3 separate regions of the Homo sapiens genome follow, and regions 2 and 3 are each linked to region 1. Evidence: promoter capture Hi-C in 16 types of primary human blood cells and fetal thymus (Javierre and others, 2016). All regions are on one chromosome and are shown on one strand. Each heading gives the region's core, a stretch centred on a gene start or on the middle of the fragment in contact. The rest is flanking DNA. Distances are from core to core; before and after follow the strand shown.

The links. Contacts are between HindIII fragments. The CHiCAGO score rates a contact against its expected background, and 5 or more counts as called.
Region 2: a fragment that was not itself captured here is called in contact with the fragment with the promoter of PPCDC in region 1 in 1 of 17 cell types (total CD4 T cells); the score reaches 5.1 in total CD4 T cells.
Region 3: the fragment with the promoter of STOML1 here is called in contact with the fragment with the promoter of PPCDC in region 1 in 1 of 17 cell types (total CD4 T cells); the score reaches 6.1 in total CD4 T cells.

The regions. Positions count from the first base shown.
Region 1 is chr15:75,021,898-75,025,644 of GRCh38, forward strand. PPCDC (phosphopantothenoylcysteine decarboxylase) reads left to right here and starts at 1,693. Exons shown (of 6, transcript NM_021823.5): 1 at 1,693-1,729. The HindIII fragment of the contact is 7,713 bases long and covers 1-3,747 here.
Region 2 is chr15:73,964,711-73,968,457 of GRCh38, forward strand. No RefSeq gene overlaps it. Among named protein-coding and RNA genes, the nearest start is that of STOML1, 26 kb to the right of the region's middle. RefSeq lists a silencer at 1,216-1,365. The HindIII fragment of the contact is 985 bases long and covers 1,576-2,560 here.
Region 3 is chr15:73,990,176-73,993,922 of GRCh38, forward strand. It overlaps STOML1 (stomatin like 1), which reads right to left and starts at 2,120. Exons shown (of 7, transcript NM_004809.5): 1 at 1,916-2,120; 2 at 176-282. The coding sequence starts at 2,048. RefSeq lists enhancers at 1,397-1,526, 1,587-1,656 and a silencer at 1,787-2,346. The HindIII fragment of the contact is 7,004 bases long and covers 1-3,200 here.

The DNA.
Region 1 (3,747 bases), core at 443-2,942:
TACTCGGGAGGCTGAGGCGGGAGAATGGCGTGAACACAGGAGGCGGAGCTTGCAGTGAGCCGAGATCGCACCACTGCACTCCAGCCTGGGCGACACAGCAAGACTCCATCTCAAAAAAAAAAGACACGGCTGGATCCCTGCGTAAGGGATGGTTTGGCCCAGATGGTCCACTGCGGCTAAGGGCGGGGGTAGAGCAGAGGCCCCACCTCAGCTCAGGGCAGGGGACCCGCAGCTGGTTCAGCCACCTCAATGAATACAGAGGTTCCTGGGGCCTGTGAAGGCTAGAAAATGAAGGGGGCAGGGAAGCATGCCAGTGTGTGTTCTTCTGCCGCCTTCCCTTTGCCCATTTGATGCCTTCCACCTGGATCGCTATTGGGATCCTCTATCTAACCTCCTGGCTGTCCTTCAAGATTCATTTCAAGTCACTCCTTCAAGAAGGCTTTCCTGCCTAGAGGTGTTGCTTCCTCATGGAGGATCTTACCCTGTCATTTTCTGTGTCCCTGTTTGTCTCAAGAACAGGGACGCATCTGATTTATCTCTGTATCCTGTGCACCTAAAATAGAAGAGGCTTGGTAAATATTAAGTGCCACGAGCCCTCTTTTACTAAGGACCTGCCAACATGGGCCCCATTCACACTAATACCATGAAGATAGCCCTTTTCTATACTTCGTCATAAAAAAGTAATACACACACCCGGGCAGCAACTTCCACACAAACAACACATGTGCAAGGAGATCACCATTATTTCCAGCAAAATGCTCCCCAGGGCCGAGCGTGGTGGCTCACTCCTGTAGTCCCAGCACTTTGGGAGGCCAAGGTGGGCGGATTGTTTGAGCCTAGGAGTTTGAGACCAGCCTGGGCAATAGAGTGAGAACCCGTCTCTACAAAAAATACAAACATTAGTCTGGCATGATGGTGCACTCCTGTAGTCCTGGCTACTCCATAGGCTGAGATAGGAGGATGGCTTAAGCCCAAAAGGTGGAGGTTGCAGTGAGTGGAGATAGCACCACTGCGCACTCCAGTCTGGGTGACAGAGCCAGACCCTGTCTCAAAAAAAAAAAAAAAAACAAAAAAAAAAACAGCTCCCCAACAAGATAGCAGGCTACAACATGCATGTGATGAAGCTGATTTGAAGCGCTCAGTGAGAGGTATCTGCATCAAGTTGCAGGAGGAGAAGAGAGAAAGGAGAGATAATCATGTTCCTGAGGTCTCAGCCCTGGATCAGGAAATCATTGAAGTATTAACATATCCTGACATTAAGGAAATGCTGATGTTTTTGGACTTTGGCAGTCTGTCCAACCTGCAGGTCACTCAGCCAACAGTGGGGATGAATTTCAAAACGCCACGTGGAAGCTGTTTGAATCTTTTTGAGATACTGTAATATTTTCAATAAACCTGGGACAACAGCAAAAAAAAAAAAAAAAAAAAAAAGGCCCCAAGCAACAAGCAGTGTGTGTGGGGCTGATAGGAGTGAGGAAAGGAGGTCGGACAGTTATGCCAGCCCCTATCGAGAGTCCCAGCAATACAAAGAACAGGGCCAGGGTTTGCTCCAGGATTTCCCCAGTGGACTACAACTCCCGGAAGGCAGAGAAGTGGACTACAGCTCCCAGAAGGCTGCGCGACATACAGCCAGCCCGGTGCTCTCGTGAGGCGTGCCAGTCAGATTCCGCGGGAGAGCGGCAGAGATACCGCGATATTTGGGAGCGGCCCCGAGACGCGCCTGGCGCGGGTGAGCAGTGGAAGGGGGCTGGGAAGCTGGGTTCTCGCGGCGGCGCGGGAGGGGAGGTTCGGGGAGCTGTGTCCGCGAGCGTGGGTCCACGGCTGTCTGTGTGTGTCCTTATTTTCCCCTGTGTGCCCATGAAGCTCTGTTTGCGACTGTGCGTGGGTAGGCGGCCGTCCATCTGTGCGACCTCACTTTCCCGGCTGTACGGGTGGGGCCGCCTGGAGCAGGAGGGACCCCCGAGCCCTGAGTGGAGGGTTTGCATCTGTACCCGTCCAGCCCGACTTTGTGCTGCTCTGCGATTATTTGTCCAGTGTCGTTTAATCTAGTTTAAATGATGGCCGTGTCAGCTCCTCACACTGAACGCTTACCCGGGCTGCCCAAAGTACAAAGTGTATTTAAAAAGTTGGTAAAATTAAAAAAGGAAAGCCATGGGATGTTGGAAGTAGCCCTAGGCCTGCCAAAAAGTGCTGAGTGCTATTTAAAAATTAGGCCAAATCTTGTCAGAAAAGAACTTCCTGCTGTCCTTGAAGTATTTGGAAGCAGGTGCTAGATGGTGAGCAGGAGAGGTTGCCAAGTTGGGGAAGTGGTGGTTGTCCTGGAGCAGGGGTTTCCACATCTCTCACAGTGGCTGGGAAGTAGCAATTCGCAGTCACTGCCTTTCTAGTAGCCCACGTGTGTGAGTGTGTGTGTTAGATACATTTATCCCTCAGTATCCGCAGGGGATTGCTGTATACTTTTTTTTTTTGAGACAAGGTCTCATTCTGTGACCCAGGCTGGAGTGCAGTGGCAGGAACATGGCTCACTGCAGCCTCGACCTCCTGGGCTCAAGGGATCCTCCTGCCTCAGCCTCCTGTGTAGCTGGAACCACAGGCATAAACAACCATACCCGGCTAATTTTTATTTTATTTCATTTTTGTAGAGACAGGGTCTCACCATGTTGCCCAGGCTGGTCTCAAACTCCTGGCTCAAGCTATCCTCCTTCCTTGGCCTCTCAAAATGCTGGGATTACAGGTGTGAGCCACCACATCACCCTCCTGTATACTCTTTTTTCTTTTCTTTTTTTTTTTTTGAGTCAGGGTCTCACTCTTGTCTCCCAGGCTGGAGTGTAGTGGTGCAATCATAGCTCACTGCATCTTCGAACTCCCTGGGCTCAGATAATCCTCCCACCTCAGCCTCCCAGGTAGCTGGGACTGCAGGCACGTGCCACCACGCCCTCCATATAATTTAAATAATCTCTAGATTACTTATAAAACCTGATACAGTGTAAATGCTATGTAAATAGCTACACACTTTTTTTTTTTTGTGGTACTATTATTATATTTTGAAATGGTCTCTCTCTGTCACCCAGGCTGGAGTGCAGTGGCACAAACATGGCTCACTGCAGCCTTCTAGGCTCAAGCGATCCTCCTGCCTCAGCCTCCCAAGTAGTTGAGACCACAGGCATGTGCCACCACACCTCACTAACTTTTAAATTTTTTGTATGGGGTCTTGCTATGTTACCCAGGCTGGTCTCGAGTACCTGGGTTTGCTCAATCCTCCCACCTTGCCCTCTTAAATTGCTGGGATTACAGGTGTAAGCTGGAGCAGAAGCCTGGGCAGCCGGTAGTGAGGGGCTTTGATGTTAGGCTAAAGGATTCAGGCTCATAATGGATCTTGGATCCCTGCCTACCCACCACCCACTTCCCTTGTTTGGTTCTGCTTTGTCTTAGGCTCAGTTCTCATCCTTCCTGTATTGAGCTTGAACGTATACCCTGTCTGGCCTTGCTTTCCTTGCTCTGTCTTTAGTCTGGTTCTGTGCCAGCTCCACCTTTGCCCATATAGGGACTGGCAGGTATCCCTGAAACCTAAAACTCTGCCCTGAATTAAACTCATCAGAGGAGACTTAAACATCACAAGCTGAGGCTCTTTGCTCTGTCTGTCCCTGTCTTTCTGGAGGATAGAGAAGCTGCCATTTTTCTGGCTGTGGCTTACCTGCTTGGCTAGTGCCCTGGGATCTTGAGGCTCAGTAATCAAAGCGTGTAGCC
Region 2 (3,747 bases), core at 818-3,317, 1.1 Mb before region 1:
TTACAGGTGTGAGCCACCGCCCCAGCCCTAGGTTTTTATATTTAAAGTGTGTTTCTCACAGACAGCCTGAGGGTCCCGGAAATTTTCTGGAAGTTGCGGCTCCACCCTCAGCTCTCAGCAACCCCTGCTCGCCTGCACTACCTAGGGGATGCGTGGTCTTGCCCTCCTCCTGGTGGTAAATGTCTCTGTGTGCTCTTGCCCGCCCCCTGGTGGTAAATGCCGTTGCTGCTACTCTTGGTTGGGCTAGTAGTGGAGGCAGTTTGTGGACGTGTGTTAAAGGGTTTCCGGACGGTGGGATGTTGCTCCATTCTCCTGGCCCAGCCTCCGCAGAGCCTGTGTACTAGGGTCTCAGAAGGTGGAGTCTTCGAAGTGCTCCTGTCCCTCCTGTCGTGCCTTCTATCTCCTGTGGGTTTAACACAGGAGAGTGCGTCCTGCGCCTCCCACAGGGGCAAGTGGTGTTTACTTTGATCCTGCCCCAGAAGCAGTGGATCTTCGTTTCTGCCTCTCCCGCAGCAGCCCTGGGGCCAGAGAGTGCAGCCTCCCACGTGGTTTTGCCCAGAGAGAATCGTCCTGGGGAAGCAGGTGGGGGTCGCTGCACAGCAGTCAATCACCGCTTGAGTGCTTGTGCCACCAGCAAGGGGGAGGGGTCTCTCCCGGCTCCCCCTCTGCCTCCAGTCTTTTTCCTGCAGTGAAGGCCTGTGCAAAAAGCTCAGAAGGCAGGGCAGACTCCCTCCTGCCCACCACATGCTCTGCCCAAGACAGTTGGTCTTGCCTTTCCTTGGAGGGGCTTGTCACTCTTTGGAATTCAGTTCTCTTGGTTGCCTGCCACCTCAGCTATCTGACTGGTTTAAGAAATTATGGTTTTGCAAATTATCTGGTGTTTTGTTATTGTTAGAGTCGGGGGGCGGGGTGGTTCATTCCTGTACTCCCAGCACTTTCGGGGGTGAGGTGGGTGGACCCTTTGAGCCCTGGAGTTCAAGACCAGCCAGCCTGAGCAACATGGGGAAACCCTGTCTCTACAAAAAAAAAAAAAAAAAAAAAAAAAAAATTAGCCAGACATGGCGACAGGAGCCTGTAGTCCCAGCTACTCAGGAGGCTGAGGTGGGATGATCACTGGAGCCCCCCCAGAAAAGAATGGGAATGATGTTCCCTTGTGGTTTTTCTATATCCTAAGAGGAAATAAAACACTCTTCTCTTTCACTTTTAACATATGCAAATGAGTGACTCTAAATGCCTTCTAGGGCAATGTCTCATGGCTTACAGTGCCTCGTGGTTTTTCTCATTTCTTTCATGATTGCAGCTGTATTTGCTACCACTTGTGCAGCTGACATTTACCAAGCCCTTACTGTGTTCCAGCATGCTTTCATTTAGAACCATCCCTGACTCCTCTTTTCTCTCAAACCCACGTTCAATTTGTCAGATAATCCTGTTGGCCCCATGTTCAAAATATAACCAGTTCCTTTCAAAAATAAAAATGGACTTATCATAAAACCCGGCAATTGCACTGTCATGCATTTTTCCCAGAGAAATGAAAACTTATTTTCATGGTGGAACTTGTACACAAATGTTCATAGAAGCTTTATTTATAATAGCCCTAAACCAGAAAATACTCACAAACTATGGTATATTCATACCACAGGATACTATTCTGCTGTAGAAGGAATGAACTATTGGTACAAGCAACAACTTGGATGAACTTTTGCTGAGTGAAAAAGCCAGCCTCAAAAGGATACATCACTGCATGATTCTATTTACACGGCAAATAATATAATTAGAGAGGGAATAGACTAGTGGTTGTCAGGAGTTAGGAATGTGTATTAGTCCGTTCTCCTCTTTCTATAAAGAAATACCTGAGACTGGGTAATTTATAAAGACAAAAGGTTTAATTGGCTCATGGTTCTGCAGTCTGTACAGGAAGCGTGGTGGCTTCAGCTTCTGGGGAGGCCTCAGGGAACTTACAACCATGGGGAGGGCAAAGGAGGAGGCAGGCACCACTTACATGGCCAGAGCAGGAGGAAAAGAGATGGGAGGTGCTACACACTTTTGAACAACTAGATCTCATGGTGCTAATCCATTCATGAGAACTCCACCCGGTTTGGTGGGGACCCAGATCAGTACCATATCAGAAGGGAGGGGAGGGTGTGGCTGTAAAGGGGTTACACGAGAGGCTTTGTGGTGATGGTACAGTTGAGCACCTCGGTCATTCTGGTGGCTACTCCAGGCTACACATAGGGCAAATTTACATAGAGCTACTTTGTGGTTGGCTGGGTGCGACGGCTCACATCTGTAATTCCAGCACTTTGGGAGGCTGAGGTGGGGGGATGACGAGGTCAGGAGGTCGAGACCAACCTGGCCAACACGGTGAAACCCCGTCTCTACTAAAAATACAAAAATTAGCCGGGTGTGGCAGTGTGTGCCTGTAATCCCAGCTACTCAGGAGGCTGAGGCAGAAGAATTGCTTTAACCCGGGAGGAGGAGGTTGCAGTGAGCCAAGATTGTGCCACTGCACTTCAGCCTGAAAACAGAGTGAGACTCTGTCTCAAAAAAAAAAAAAAAAAAAAGCTTTTTTGTGGTCTTTGTGCTGATACCAAATAAGTGGTATCATTTCCAACACCAATCGATTTTCTGCTTCTGTGATACCAATTGGGTGTTCAATAATTCAATTCTATTCTGATACTAACCTGGAGTTAGTGTCAGACTCCACAGGCTGAAGGGCTCAGTCCCATAAGACTACCCCCATTTCTCCCAGGCGCAGTGGCTCACACCTGTAATCCCAGCACTTTGGGAGGCTGAGGCGGGCGGATCACCTGAGGTCAGGAGTTCGAGACCAGCCTGGCCAACATGGTGAAACCCTGTCTCTACTAAAAATACAAAAATTAGCCAGGCCTGGTGGCGGGCACCTGTAATCCCAGCTACTCGGGAGGCTGAGGCAGAAGAATTGCTTGAACCCAGGAGGTGGAGGTTGCAGTGAGCTGAGGTCACGCCATTGCACTCCAGCCTGGGCAACAAGAGTGAAACTCCATCTCAAAAAAAAAAAAAATGGCTGGGTGTGGTGGCTCATGCCTGTAATCCCAGAACTTTGGGAAGCCGAGGCAGGCGGATCACCTGAGGTCAGGAGTTCGAGTCCAGCCTGGCCAACATGGTGAAACCTCATCTCTACTAAAAGTACAAAAATTAGCCAGGAGTGGTGGCGAGTGCCTGTAATCCCAGCTACTTGGGGGGCTGAGACAGGATAATTGCTTGAACCCAGAGGCGGAGGTTGTGTGAGCCGAGATCGTGCCACTGCACTCCAGCCTGGGTGACAGAGTGAGACTCGATGTCTCCAAAAAAACAAAACAAAACAAAACAAAACTACCCCCATTTCACATGCCAGTCACAAGTACTGGGTCCCCAGGTTACCCACACTTCTGTCCAGCCAACTACAAATTTGGAGGTTCCCGTGACCTCCATTCCTCAGGTTTGATAATTTGCTAGAATGGCTCACAGAACTCAAAAAAACACATTACTTCACCATTACTGGTCTATTGTAAAAGATACAACTCAGGAACAGCCAAGTGAAGAGATGCATAGGACTGGGTATTGTAGGGTGGGTGTGCAGAGCCTCCCTGCCTGCTCTGGGCGTCACCCCTCCAGCATCTCCATGTGTTCCAACCCAGAAGCTCTCCAAACTCCATTGTTTTGGAACTTTATGAAGGTTCCATTACAGAGGCATGATTGATGAAATCATTGGTCATTGGTGACTGAACT
Region 3 (3,747 bases), core at 870-3,369, 1.0 Mb before region 1:
CCAAGCCTTAGTTTCCTCCCCTGACCAATGTGAATGAATGGTTCTTGCCTAGCCCATTACACAAAGGGGTAATAATATTTAGGGAAAGGGGACAGAGGATAGGCAAATTTATTCATCAATGCCAAAGCTCTCAGTGTGGCCCAACCACCCTGGGGGCTGACCCAGCCAGCCTTACCTTCAGGGCAAACCAGCCAGAAATGGGGAAGGTGACCAACAGCAGCAAGAACCCCAGGAAACTGATGAGGCCATGACAGAGGCAGGAGGGCCAGCTCTGGGGTACATCTGCAGGTGAGAGCAGAGGTGGTCAACTGGACCTGCACGACAGCTGCCAAGCGGAGTGAACTTGGGCAAGTGTACCTTACGCCCACCTTCCCCTCGAGAGGCTCCTTCCTTCTCAGGGCTCTCAATCTGGCTCCTTGCCTAATATTCCCGTATCTTTGGGCAGCTGCAAGTTAGGGTCTGTTCCCTCCTCCCATACATCAACACTCATTTGTCCCAAGTCCAACAACCCTCACAAGGCCTTATTCTCTGCTAGGCAACAGCCATTCAATCTCAGAATCCAGTCCGCGTGATGATGCTCTCCTCACTGGACTGAGTAGGGGTCAATCCTCTCGTTTAATTTATATTGCCTACCCATACCTGGCATGGAGCCAGGAGCACCTGGGCATCTGTAAACATGCACTGAATACTGCTGGCAAAACACATTCCTCCTATACCATCAGCCCCAGAAGTGTGCTTTCCAGGAGTCCTTATGAAGATGATGCCTTAGCCTACAGGGATAAATCATAAATAGCTTATCAACGGGAGCCACAGATGAGGAATTAGATTATTATTTTCTATTCCACACCCAACTTTAATGCCTTAATGACCATTAAAAAATGCCTATTTCACGAGATGGCGCCACTGCACTCCAGCCTGGGGGACAGAGCGAGACTCCATCTCAAAAAAACAACAAACAACAAAAAACAAAAACAAAAAAAAACCCTGCCTATTTCAATTCAAGAAAATTGTTAGGGGTCGGGGTCAGGGGCAGGGCTAGAAAGATGAGGCTTATCCAAGCCAAATGTCCTGGCCCCTGGAGATTCAGGAGCCCAAGTTGGGAGCAAAGCCGAGACAGCTCCAGAATCTGGGATGAGGTTATTTGCCGCTTTCCTCCCAACCCTGGACAGGAAGCAGTCGGGAGCCCTGCTCCATTCTTCCAGGAAGCCCTGCCCTCTGGGCTAAGCCCCAGAGCACTGAGGCTCCACTTTGTGCCTGGCTCTGATCCACCAGGCCTCTCAAGAGACTTCTGGATAGGGAGAGCTTTCAGGACAGGAAGGCCAGGGAGGGATCAAATCCAAGGTTAGGCGGTTAGGCTGAACAGCGTGGGATCTGGCCTGTAGGCCAAAGGAGCCACAGAAGACTTTGAGGGCAAGACAGAAGCAGGGCAGATCCAACAGGCAGCTGAGGACCTGTCATTTTGGCCTGCACATCCAGGAGATGCCTAGTTCCCGGGCTTCTAGAGGTGCCCCCTAGGGCGAAAATTCTTCCATTTCCCTGCAGCAGGTGCCTTTAGGGTGCTGGTGGCCTCCTCTGCCTAGACCTCGGTTTCTTCTATGCGAAATAGAAACCTGAAACGTCTTCCCAGGCCTAAAGGGCTGATAAGAGCCGAGGACAAATGTGGTGAGGTGAGGTTTTGGAAGATAGGAGCAACGCTGGCTGGCTCTGGGGCCAAAGCCCCATGACCCTAGGGAGGGCGGATCGGCGCTAGCACCAGGCGCCGGGTCCAGCCCCCTCTCCACATCGTATCCCTTTCTCAGTCCCCCCTCGTAGGGTGCGACGGCACCGGGCCGGCCGACTCCTCGGAGGCAGAGATTCGGGCCTGGGGGTTGCCGGCCGGTCCCCCCCGGCTCCGCCGTGCCAGGCGGCCACTCACCGGCCCCTGTCCCCACGCCGCCCCGCTCCGGGGACAAGCAGCCCTTCTGCGAGCCCAGAAAGCCGAAGCTCGACTGCTGGAAGCGGTCAAAATCACCCAGGGGCAGCGCCCGGTACCCAGACCTGCCGAGCATGGCTTTTGACAGGAGACACGCCCCGCGCCTCCGCGCGGCGCCCTCCCTGGCCAGTGGGCCCTACGCGGCCCCGCCCTCCTGGCTGCTGCTTCCGGCTTCACCCGCGCGGCCACCCGCGGCGGCGCGGGCGCAGGAAGAGGAGGCCGGCCGGGGCCCGCTTCCGCCGTCGCATGGCTCCCCCTGCGCTGGGAGGACCGAACTGCAGCCCAGGGCTACTGGGTGTGATCGGCGTTCCTCGGACCCCGCTGGGGTCATCGCCTCCTCCCCTCTTCTCCTACTCAGCCCTAGAAAAGCTGGAGGGGAAGCTGGGCACGGTGGCTCACTCCTATAATCCATCAATTTGGGAGACTCAGGCAGGAGGATCGCTTGAGGCCAGGAATTCAGGACCATCCTGAGCAACATAGTGAGAGCCCATCTCTACAAAAAATTTTTAAAAATTAGCCTGGCGTGGGATGCCTGCCTGTGGTCCCAGCCACTTGGGAGGCTGAGGCGGGAGGATCTCTTGAGTCCAGGAGTTTGAGGCTGCAGTGAGCTATGATCGTGCCACTGCACTGCAGTCGGAGCGAGAGAGCAAGATCTCATCAGGGTTTACAGGAAGCCAATCTTCTCCAGGATCAAGGACATGCTATATCAGCCTTCTCAGCACTCCTTCTCTCACACTGGAGGCAGGACATGCCATATCTGGACTTTGGGTTTCTCTGGGACATAGTCTGCAAATTATTCCTCTTTGTGAACCCACAGCCCAGCAAGCAGGGACTGGCATAGGGCAGGTCTCAATACTTATTTGTTAAGTAATGGCCTGGCCAGGTCACCGTGATCAAGGTGGAGTAGGAAGGCCTGAACTTTGGCACAAAAAGAAAGAAGTTTCACATGCAGACTTCGGGGAGCATGGGAGTGTAAGGAAGAAGGGGATAGCACAGAGCTACATGAGGGCAGGGGCCCCAGAGCACCACAGAGGTGAGGCCCTCAGTCCTGCAGGTCCAGAAAGAGCATGCCCCTTGATCCAGGTACCTGGAATTAACTTGCCTCTCCAGGGCTTGAGAAAACCTGAATGCAACTCGTGAATTTCCTTTGAGAAGTGTTAACTTCCAACAGGACTTTGGGGTAGTCTGGGAGCAGGCTATCTTCCAAAGCAAGCAAAGAAATGAATAAAGCTTCCCCAGCTCTGCCTCCTCAGCCAATCGCCTCTGGCCTCCGAAGCCCCATCCTGCCATAGCCCACTTCCAGGTCCCTTGTGCAGATGGCTGCCCACCATATTTGGCTTTCATGGACTGATTCTCTAAAGGCCTGGGAGTACTGACCAGGCTGGAGGGAAGGGCAGGCTCCTGAGGCCTTACAGTCCCTAGGAAGTTGCGTATCTGCCCAACCCCTGCTCTCCACCCTGCAGACTGTAAGGTTTACAAGAGCCAGGCCCTATCATCATCCTTTCTAGTCTGTTTCTAAGTTGGAACAGAGTACGGAATGGGTACACAGGAGCCAGCACAGTGGTTGCGATGGTTTAAGTTTGAAGCCGGGGCGCTGACCCAGTGAGGTCACCTGGAACTGTGCCCCTTTCCCCTTACCAGCTGGGAGTCTGACATGCTTTTCCATTGGCGAAGACCTAGCTGGCTCTCCCCTCACCCTCTTCATACCCGCTCTCCAGCTCTCCCCCTCCCTCCTGCCCCCACCACCTCAGATCCACCAGCCTTTCCAGCTGTCA